Linked DNA regions of Homo sapiens: region 1 is linked to region 2. The links are contacts of gene promoters, found by promoter capture Hi-C in blood cells and fetal thymus (Javierre and others, 2016). All regions are on one chromosome and are shown on one strand. The core of a region is centred on a gene start or on the middle of the fragment in contact, and the rest is flanking DNA. Distances in the headings are between cores, read along the strand shown.

Region 1 (5,379 bases), core at 1,709-4,208, 730 kb before region 2:
GGCCACCGCGCGCAGGGGCCGGGGCCGGGACTGGGGATGGCGGCCTGCCCGCGCGCCCCGGCCCTGCCCAGGGAGAAGGCCATCCGCATCCCGCACGGGTGCCGCAGCGCTCCCCCGGGCCCGGGAATGCCCGCAGGCGGGTCACCGCAGTCTCCTGGTGGCCACAAAGTGTCCTGGGCGCGCGCCGGAGCCGTAGCAGCCAGGGAGATGAGGGCGGCCGCAGGCCCAGCGCTGACACCGCCGCACCTTGGGCCCGCAGGCTGTTCGGCATCAAGTGCGCCAAGTGCCAGGTGGGCTTCAGCAGCAGCGACCTGGTGATGAGGGCGCGGGACAGCGTGTACCACATCGAGTGCTTCCGCTGCTCCGTGTGCAGCCGCCAGCTGCTGCCTGGGGACGAGTTCTCGCTGCGGGAGCACGAGCTGCTCTGCCGCGCCGACCACGGCCTCCTGCTCGAGCGCGCCGCGGCCGGCAGCCCGCGCAGCCCCGGCCCGCTTCCCGGCGCCCGCGGCCTGCATCTGCCCGGTAAGCGCGCCGGGGCCTGTGCCGGGGTGAGCGGGGTGTATGTGCGTGCGTGTGTGTAGGGGTACGCTTGTGTCCCTAACGAGAAGTTGTCAGTTGTGTGTGGTTCCGTCTGCCGGGATAGTGTTTTTCTGTATCAGTGCGGAACTGTGTGCTGGGAACAAGGCTGTGTGTATTCTCGTGTGCTCGGGAGAAACTGCGTGTGTATGAGTGTGTGAGCACGGAGAATTGTGCAGAATCGTGTTCTCCATGACCAGGAACATGCAGGGCACAGTGCTAGGAGCAGAAGAGTGGATGACAACAGGGAATCTTAAGTGGTGTCCGTCTTGGGGCTTGTATTAGGAATTTCTTGGAGGAATATGTGTTATTGTCAGAGGGTAAGGTTTGCCCAGGGGTATGTGTGTAAGTAACACAGCTCCAAACTGGGAGCTGGGCAGGAGCTTGGTCAGCCAGGAGCCAAGAACCCAACAAAGAGGGGTTTTTGCCATCTTGTTTTGAGGCCCAGTTTGATGAACAATTTAGCCAGGTTCTTCTGGGGGAGGGGGAGTATCAATGCATAGTGGACTGTCACTGGAATATTCTGGGTCCTAATCAGCAGCTGCCCAGAGATGGGGTCTGAGTGTATAATGGGCAGGTACGGCTGAACAGAAACAGAGGTGCCTCCACCCCAGGCAAGGCAGTTTCCCCCAGGTAGCCATAGGCCTGCAGCACAGATCCGTAGACCAGGCTGGGCCTCTGGGTGCTGTGTGGCCTTGCCCCGCTCCTCCCCTCTCTGGATCTTCACTTCCTCCCTATAGAAAGAGGAAACTGGGCTGGATGGGCTATTTGTAAATATTTGTCCAGACCTAGAAATTCGTAGAGGGGAACATAAACCGAAATGGTGCAGTACAGATCCACGGTATATATGGGTCGGGATCAAATGGAGATGTGAAATGGGAGCAAGCGGGTATTCAGTGCACCCCCATCTGGGATCTCGGAGAGGCTCCCCTTTGTTTGTTTCGGGCTTCAGGGTGCAGGCTCTGGAATCAGTCACTGTTTCCCCGGGATGGAGAGAACCTGGGGCCAAGCGAGGAGAGTGCCAGCGGCTGCTCAGCACCTTGGTCGGTGGGAGGCCACTGGGCTGGGGAACCTGGAGCCTTGAGGAAGGAGACAGGGGCCGAAGCCCAAGGGCGGGCAGGAAGGAACTGTTGCAAGCCCTGGAGGCCCGTCCATAACCGTGGATGAGTCTTCTACACATGTGGCCTGGCCCTGTCCAAATGGGCTCTGAAGGAGGGGAAGGGCCCTCGTAGGCCCCCGGCATATTCGCACCTCCCACCCAGTCCCCTGGGCAGCGCCTCGCCCTGGGTCCACGTCGGTCCCTTTCCCTCTCCAGAGTCCTGGGCAAGCCTCTTTCCTCTTCCTCTGAAACTCCGACTTCTTCCGGAGGGCTTCGCTCGTTCCGAGGGTCCTGCGACTGGAGGAGGCACATCCCTGAGCAGCCACTCCCTCCCCGCAGCGGCCTGTCGCCGAGCTCCCGCGCCCTGCTTGAGCTCGGGAGAGATCGCTGCGGGGCAGTCCGGCCCGGGAGCGAGAGAAAGAACGAAAATGCACAGCTCTCTCCGAGTAAGGCGAACAGATGGAGAGGAAGACGAACAATTAAACGAAACAAACAGAATAAAACAGAAACGAAATCGGGCCCCGGGGGGCTGGGCCACCCGGAGGTTGGGCTCGGGGCGGGTGGGTGGCGGCCCCTCGCTAACCTCTGGCCTCACCCTGTCCTGGCAGACGCTGGGTCGGGCCGGCAGCCCGCGTTGCGCCCGCACGTGCACAAGCAGACGGAGAAGACGACCCGCGTGCGGACTGTGCTGAACGAGAAGCAGCTGCACACTCTGCGGACCTGCTACGCCGCCAACCCGCGGCCCGACGCTCTCATGAAGGAGCAGCTGGTGGAGATGACCGGCCTGAGCCCGCGGGTCATCCGCGTCTGGTTCCAGAACAAGCGCTGCAAGGACAAGAAGAAATCCATTCTCATGAAGCAGCTGCAGCAGCAGCAGCACAGCGACAAGACGGTGAGCAGCCGCTGGGCCGGAGGCTCGAGTCGGGTGGGGGCTGCGCTTCCGCCGCGGTATCTGCGTGCCCTTTTCTGGGCGAGCCCTGGGAGATCCAGGGAGAACTGGGCGCTCCAGATGGTGTATGTCTGTACCTTCACAGCAAGGCTTCCCTTGGATTTGAGGCTTCCTATTTTGTCTGGGATCGGGGTTTCTCCTTGTCCCAGTGGCAGCCCCGCGTTGCGGGTTCCGGGCGCTGCGCGGAGCCCAAGGCTGCATGGCAGTGTGCAGCGCCCGCCAGTCGGGCTGGTGGGTTGTGCACTCCGTCGGCAGCTGCAGAAAGGTGGGAGTGCAGGTCTTGCCTTTCCTCACCGGGCGGTTGGCTTCCAGCACCGAGGCTGACCTATCGTGGCAAGTTTGCGGCCCCCGCAGATCCCCAGTGGAGAAAGAGGGCTCTTCCGATGCGATCGAGTGTGCGCCTCCCCGCAAAGCAATGCAGACCCTAAATCACTCAAGGCCTGGAGCTCCAGTCTCAAAGGTGGCAGAAAAGGCCAGACCTAACTCGAGCACCTACTGCCTTCTGCTTGCCCCGCAGAGCCTTCAGGGACTGACTGGGACGCCCCTGGTGGCGGGCAGTCCCATCCGCCATGAGAACGCCGTGCAGGGCAGCGCAGTGGAGGTGCAGACGTACCAGCCGCCGTGGAAGGCGCTCAGCGAGTTTGCCCTCCAGAGCGACCTGGACCAACCCGCCTTCCAACAGCTGGTGAGGCCCTGCCCTACCCGCCCCGACCTCGGGACTCTGCGGGTTGGGGATTTAGCCACTTAGCCTGGCAGAGAGGGGAGGGGGTGGCCTTGGGCTGAGGGGCTGGGTACAGCCCTAGGCGGTGGGGGAGGGGGAACAGTGGCGGGCTCTGAAACCTCACCTCGGCCCATTACGCGCCCTAAACCAGGTCTCCCTGGATTAAAGTGCTCACAAGAGAGGTCGCAGGATTAACCAACCCGCTCCCCCGCCCTAATCCCCCCCTCGTGCGCCTGGGGACCTGGCCTCCTTCTCCGCAGGGCTTGCTCTCAGCTGGCGGCCGGTCCCCAAGGGACACTTTCCGACTCGGAGCACGCGGCCCTGGAGCACCAGCTCGCGTGCCTCTTCACCTGCCTCTTCCCGGTGTTTCCGCCGCCCCAGGTCTCCTTCTCCGAGTCCGGCTCCCTAGGCAACTCCTCCGGCAGCGACGTGACCTCCCTGTCCTCGCAGCTCCCGGACACCCCCAACAGTATGGTGCCGAGTCCCGTGGAGACGTGAGGGGGACCCCTCCCTGCCAGCCCGCGGACCTCGCATGCTCCCTGCATGAGACTCACCCATGCTCAGGCCATTCCAGTTCCGAAAGCTCTCTCGCCTTCGTAATTATTCTATTGTTATTTATGAGAGAGTACCGAGAGACACGGTCTGGACAGCCCAAGGCGCCAGGATGCAACCTGCTTTCACCAGACTGCAGACCCCTGCTCCGAGGACTCTTAGTTTTTCAAAACCAGAATCTGGGACTTACCAGGGTTAGCTCTGCCCTCTCCTCTCCTCTCTACGTGGCCGCCGCTCTGTCTCTCCACGCCCCACCTGTGTCCCCATCTCGGCCGGCCCGGAGCTCGCCCACGCGGACCCCCGCCCTGCCCCAGCTCAGCGCTCCCTGGCGGCTTCGCCCGGGCTCCTAGCGGGGAAAAGGAAGGGGATAACTCAGAGGAACAGACACTCAAACTCCCAAAGCGCATGATTGCTGGGAAACAGTAGAAACCAGACTTGCCTTGAAAGTGTTTAAGTTATTCGACGGAGGACAGAGTATGTGAGCCTTTGCCGAACAAACAAACGTAAGTTATTGTTATTTATTGTGAGAACAGCCAGTTCATAGTGGGACTTGTATTTTGATCTTAATAAAAAATAATAACCCGGGGCGACGCCACTCCTCTGTGCTGTTGGCGCGGCGGGAGGGCCGGCGGAGGCCAGTTCAGGGGTCAGGCTGGCGTCGGCTGCCGGGGCTCCGCGTGCTGCGGGCGGGGCGGGCCCGGTGGGGATTGGGCGCGGCCGAGGGGGTGGGGCTGGGCGCATGCGCGCTGAGGGCCCTCCCAGAAGCAGGAGCGCCCCATTGGCGACCCCTGGGCACCTGGCGGCCCAGGCCCGCGGGCAGGAGGCGGGACCCGTTTGGGCGGGAAACCTGCGGCACTTGTGGCGGTTGAGCGGCGGACTCCGGCCTAGGGTTATGCGGGCGAGGGCGCGCCCCGCTCCCGGAACCAGCCTTGGCCTGGCGCCTGCCGAGCCCCGAGCCCCACTCTCGCTCGGCGCCGCGGGCCCTCCCGGCGCTTCCTTCCCCAGCGGTCCGCGGCCCTGGGTGAGGCTCGAAGCCCCGCGCGCTGCCCCTGGCCCTGCAGCACAGCAGTGAGGCCAACCCCGGCCAGAGCGGGCGGCCGTGACGGGCCGTGCCCCGCGCTGTCCCCGGAGTGGATGCGCGACGTGATCAATCCGCGGCATTTATTAATTCCACAGTCTAGACAGAGGCGGGGGCCGGGCGGCGGCTGCTTATCTGCGTTTGGCATCACCTGCAAGCGATACACCGAGGGGCCGCAACGAGCCCCCGCTAGGAGCGCGGCTGCCGGGAAAATAAGTCCACCCAGAACCAGTCTGGCGTGTCCTTGGTTTATTTTCTTTCCAGACCGAAGTGGAGGGGGTCGGGGGTGGCCCGGGTGGGAGGGAGCTGGGAATGGCCCCTGGATATGCCGTGCCCAGGTCACTTGGTGTGACATTTCAAACCCCTGCGACTTGTTTTCTTGAAAACTGGCTTTAGTGATCGCA
Region 2 (5,685 bases), core at 8-2,507:
GTCCAGGGCACTCAAGTGTTTAAGGAAATGACAAGTTCAGAGAGGCAAGGTGATTTGGGACCAGACTGAGGACTTCTGCTCCAAGACCAGGGGAAGGAGTTGAACCTTATTCTACCGCTGAAGCTTCTGTTTTCCTTATTTTCAGATCAAGTGATGTGATAGAGGAAACGTTTTAAAAGATTTATCCGGGTGCAAAGTCCAGATGGGCTGGAGGGTGGAGAGACGGATAGGAACAACTTAGGTTACTATAAAAGTCCCTGATGAGATAAGGACCCAAACTAAGATGACATAAACATTCCTTTCAAAGAGGGTGTACCCCTTAAAAATTCATAAGCCACCTTTTATTGAAAGTGAACTCATCACTTTCAAAATCTTGTGACATCTCCATCATATATTTAACCAAGAGTTATAATCTCACAGTTTGGTCACCCCCATGACCAAAACAAATAGACCGATGTTCTTGGTCAATGGATTATTTGGCTCCTCGAGTTGAAACCCTTCATTTTCTGGGCTGGTGACAGTCAGCCGGTTCTCCACACACAAAGGGCGTTAAGTGGAACCCCCGCCCCGGCTCCGCAGCGTCCCCGCGGATCTGCCCGCCTCGGGACGGCCACTCGTCTGCGAGGCCCCGACAAAGAGCGCGGAACCTGAGCCTCTGGCGAAGATCCTATTTCGAGCCCGACGTCCTGCTACAGTCTGCAATAAGCGCTCTCCGTCCAGCCGGCGACTCCGGGGGGGGGAGACTGGGGCGCCTGGCACGGAGCCAGCCCGCGTGGGCCGAGCGCGGAGGCGCCGGCTGGAGGCCGTGGAGTCCCTGAAGGCCTCCCCTCGCTGTCCTCCGCGCCCAGGCTCCCGGCTTGGTCCGGCAGGGACCTCGCGAAGCGGCCTCACACCCGGCCCTCCCCTCGCCTCAGCCGCCTGAGGGCCCGCGCGCGGCCCCCGCGCGCCCGCCCAGGCCCAAGCCCGGCCCCCACGGGCGCCTCCGCCGCGGCCTCGCCCGGCCCCGCCGCCGGCCCCTCGCTCTGCCCGGCCCCGCTCACCCAGAAGATGAGGTTGAGAAAGACCAGCACGGTCTTGGAGGAGGTGATGCCGCACTGGCCCATGGCGCCGGTGGCCCGCGAAGGCCCGGCCCGGAGAGCGGGGCTGCGCTCACCGAGAGAGCGGCAATGGCGGCGGCGCCTCCTCGCTAGGAACTGCACGGCCTGCGCGGCGCTCCCCGCAGCCCCTGCGCCGTCGCGCAGCCCCGACCCCAGCAAGTGCCTCGCTCCTCCGCGCAGCCGCCGCAGTCCCCTCAGGGCTCCCGCGCCGCTCCCTGGCAACCGAGTCCCGCCCCACGCGGCCGGTAGCTTCAGCCAATCGCCTCTGCGGAGGCTGCAGTGAGGCCACGCCTCTTAAAGGAGCCAAGGCCTCAGCGCCTTTTCTTGGCCTCTGGCCGCCCTTGGACGCAGATGGCTCCCTAGGGAGGTTCTGGTGGACCAAACCCACTCTCCTCCTATGACTATGCCACCCTTATAGATGATTCAGAGCCCTCTGAGTGCTATCTTTCTACCTAGCCCATTCTCCCCTAGGAAGGTTGGAGACACTAATCTCTGCCTGACCAGATTCTCCTGACCAGGTTAAAATCTTGGCAGCACTGTTGGTGAGAAGTGCAAAGAAAAACAACAAATACTTATGGAGAAACTTATTGTACCAGGCGCTGGGCTAGACCTCAGAAGAGTCAGAGAGGAGAAAAGGCTGGTGATGGCGTTAGCAAGGCAGAGACATGTTTGTGTGGGTGAGTGGTTGGGAACAAGTTCTATTCCAGGGTAGTAAGTTTTGGACCAAGATTCGCAACGATTACAGAAACATCTCTTTGCATTGCAACATTTCACATTCTTCCCCCAATCTTGAATCCGTCATAGCAATTAATTATTGGGTGCTCACCCGGTGCCAGGCTCCATTAGTTCATTTAACCCCCACCACAACCCTGGATGGAAGGCACTATGGTTATCAGCCTCATTTTACTGATCGGGTAATTGAGGCTTAGAAAGGTTAAGAAGTTCGCCCAGAGCCACACATAGTAAGTGGTCTAGTGCAAAAAACACATCATCAGTCACACAATAAACTGCCTCTGTTTGCTGTCTTTCCTGCCATTATAATCCTGCACTCCCTCCTTGACCGCGCCCGTAAGGATTTCCATTTACTGGTCTTTATCAGCTCGCTCTCATGCAATCTCCCCCACTCATCACCTTTCCCAGGCACTCTCAGAAGTACCTGTTAATCTCAGCATCCTGTGCATTTACACCAAGCAGCAGCAACAGCCATTTATTCACTCATCAAACTTGCCGCGTGTCCCCTCTGGGCCTCACTGTTGTCGGTGGTGGATATTCCACTGTGAGCAAGACGTATCCTTCCTTCCATGGCTTACATTCGTTCGGGCAGAGGAGGCAGACCATAAACAAACGGGCAAGTGGGTATATGACATGAGGTAGTGTTAGGAAACAATTCAGAGGAAAGGAATAGAGTGATGAGAGGAGTCCTCTCTGAGGAGAGAACATTGGAGGGGACCCAAGGGAGGTGAGGGGAACAGCCCAAAGATGAGAGCAGCAAGGACAAAGGCCCAGAGACCGGAACATGATCACTGTGCTGTAGGAAGGGGAACACAGAGAGCCTAGTGTGCTGGAGGTGAGCGAGGCCGGATCACCAACAGCCTACTACGCCAGGCAGAAGCCTTTGAGCAGACCAGTAACACCATCTAAGTGTTTCAAGTGCCATTCTTGCCATACCATGGAGGTCCTAGTTAAAGAAAGAAAAATGATGGGCTCTCAAACATGATTCCCTTTGAACATCTATCTTCTTGACGCCTCTGCCCTCTGTAAATTTCTCTGTCTGCTTTGCTCTGAGTGCTTTTCCTCCTTTTCCAAAACATCCCCTTTGCATTTCTTCATCCTCATCGTGTCCCTTCTCATTTCCCTGTGAAGGTCTCATCAAGTCCTTCTTGTGCCTTCTCCTTGAGTGGGTCTCAGACCCCCCCCCCCCCCACATTACAATCATCTGGGCCACACAGACAAACTCCATCAGATTCTCTGGGGGCGAGCCTCAGGGAATCAGGTGTTTTTCAAAAACACACCAGGTGATTCGAATATGCTGTTGGGGCTGCAAACCACAGTTCTGAGTTTACAAGCATGGTCATGCCTCTCCTATCCTAAAAAGAAAAGCCTCTCACTTAAACACCATGTTTTACTTTTTCTTTCTTCTCTTAGCCAAAGTTCCTAAAAGAGTCATCTCATCCAGTGCTTCTCAGACTTTGCCTTGCGCACAGATCACCTGAGGATGCAGACTCCAGGTGGTGGGGGTGCAGCTGGGCCCCTCTTTGTAGCAAGGGGCTGGACTTCTGCCCTTGACTCTTTTGCTTCCCACTCACTTTTTTTTGTTGTTGAGATGTAGTCTCGCTCTGTCGCCCAGGCTGGAGTGCAGTGGTGCAATCTCCGCTCACTGCAACCTCCGCCTCCCAGGTTCAAGCGATTCTCCTGCTTCAGCCTCCTGAGTAGCTGGAATTACAGGTGTCCACCACCACACCTGGCTAATTTTTGTATTTTTAGTAGAGACGGGGTTTCACCATGTTGGTCAGGCTGGTCTTGAACTCCTGACCTCATGATCCACCTGCCTTGGCCTCTCAAAGTGTTGGGATTACAGGCGTGAGCCATCGTGCCTGGCCTCACTTTTTGACTCACTGCCATGTGGCATCACCCCCACAGTGCCACCGATATCGCTCTTGTCAATGTTACCAGTGACTTATCTGCTACCCCTTCTCTGAGGTGGCATATATCATGGTTAAGAGCACAGGCTCGGGGACCAGGTAGCCTAGCTGGGTCCTCTCTCTGTGCCTCAGTATCCCCATCATAGGGAGAAAATGATGATGACATTACTTCCCTAATTATCATGTGATTGCTGTGAGAATTAAGTGCATTCATATACATATAGCTGTCAGAAAAGTACCTGGCACACAGGTGCTTTGTAATCACCGGAGTTTACTGTTTCCGAGACCTAACCATATTTGGCTCCGTTGACTTCTTCGTACTCAGAACTCTGCCTTTCCTTAGCTTCCATAACACCATCATCTCTTAGTTCACTGTCTGCCTTTGCAGCAGCACCTGTTCCTTGCACCCATTGGATGTTGGTGTCTCCCAGAGTTCTGGCTTAGGTCTTTTGATTTTCTCAACCAACCTGGGCCAGCTCACCCAGAGCACTGGATTCCGTTGCTATCCACGTGCAGGACTTTCCTGAACCTACAGCTTCAGCCCAGGTCTTTCTCTCAATTTCCTTTCCATGAATCCGACTGCCTGCTGTGTTGCTCCAGGTGGATTCATTTATTGATTCAACACATTTATTGGTTACCTACTCTGTGCCTGACCCTATGCCACGTGGTGGGGGGTGGTTCTAGCAACATAGTGGTTAGACCTGGGTGTGTGATGGCCCCAGGGAGCTTGCAATCCAGAGCGGAGATTCAACGCTAATTATGAAATTATTTATCTAATTGCAACTGGGATAAGCAATACAAAGGAGACCCTCAGGCTGCTGTGAGAGTTTATAACAGGGACCATACCATAACCTTGTATGGGGTTAACTTATATGTGTGCCAGACCCGGCAGGTCCCAAACTGAACTCATAATTTCCCCTCAACCTGCCTCTCCTCTACCTGTGTTCCTTAGCTTCATGAATAGTCCACCCATCCTTTTCCCTGGGCCAAGACTTGGATATTATGACCCACAGTCTCCCTCACTGACCCCTTCTACCCACCGAGAGGATCCTTCTTACTGGAAAATTAGCCTTCCTGGGTAACTCTTGGAACTCCAAATTCCTACTGCCCAGTGCTCAGGAAGTCTGATTTTACCTCCACTGACAAAGTTGCTAAGAGAGCAACTGAGGGCATGAAGTCCCTCCCAAGGAAGCACAGACCCACTCTGTCTTGCTGCATCTGACAGTGGCACACCTGTCTGGGGATGATGGGAGGATGGAGCAATTGTGACTTCGCTTACTGACCCCTGGCCTGTAACTTGCCCTAATAAACTCTGTTCTTCAACCCGTACTGTGTGAAGTAAAATTCACTCTGATCCATGTTGTATGACACAAAGAGTCTATCTTTTACCAAAAAAGAAAAGGTTTATTCATTTTCTTTCCATTGTAAAGCAATGCCTGCTTGTGGTGGTTTGTGCCTTCCATTTTTTTTTTTTTTTTTTTTTTGAGACGGAGTCTCACTCTCTCGCCCAGGCTGGAGTGCAGTGGCACGATCTTGGCTCACTGCAAGCTCCGCTTCCCAGGTTCACGCCATTCTCCTGCCTCAGCCTCCCGATTAGCTGGGACTACAGGCACCTGCCACCATGCCCGGCTAATTTTTTGTATTTTTAGTAGACACGGGGTTTCACCGTGTTAGCCAAGATGGTCTTGATCTCCTGACCTCGTGATCCGCCCGCCTCAGCCTCCCAAAGTGCTAGGATTACAGGCGTGAGCCACCGTGCCCAGCCTGGTTTGTGCCTTTCTTAAATCTGCTCTGTAGTATGATTTGGGCCATTGCAAATAATAATAATAATAACAATACCTGCTTGTGGCCATTTGTCTTTTTTTGCGCTATCCTGCATTGGATCGCCCTGCCTGTTTGGGAAGATCCCCATTGTATGAATTTTGGGGGCACCCAGACTGGAGCCT

Evidence for each region. The method cuts DNA at HindIII sites, captures the fragments that hold promoters and counts their contacts. A CHiCAGO score of 5 or more calls a contact.
Region 1: a fragment that was not itself captured here is called in contact with the fragment with the promoter of TSPAN3 in region 2 in 1 of 17 cell types (monocytes); the score reaches 5.3 in monocytes.

What each region holds. Positions count from the first base shown.
Region 1 is chr15:76,337,993-76,343,371 of GRCh38, forward strand. It overlaps ISL2 (ISL LIM homeobox 2), which reads left to right. Exons shown (of 6, transcript NM_145805.3): 3 at 260-522; 4 at 2,284-2,567; 5 at 3,142-3,309; 6 at 3,727-4,483. The coding sequence ends at 3,843. LOC124903532 reads right to left here. Exons shown (of 1, transcript XM_047433420.1): 1 at 4,401-5,379. The coding sequence ends at 4,788. Among named protein-coding and RNA genes, the nearest start is that of ISL2, 3.9 kb to the left of the region's middle. RefSeq lists enhancers at 1-101, 1,649-1,718, 1,739-1,948, 2,146-2,901. The HindIII fragment of the contact is 7,335 bases long and covers 1-5,379 here.
Region 2 is chr15:77,069,852-77,075,536 of GRCh38, forward strand. TSPAN3 (tetraspanin 3) reads right to left here and starts at 1,258. Exons shown (of 7, transcript NM_005724.6): 1 at 1,041-1,258. The coding sequence starts at 1,103. RefSeq lists a silencer at 725-1,424 and an enhancer at 1,565-1,624. The HindIII fragment of the contact is 12,417 bases long and covers 122-5,685 here.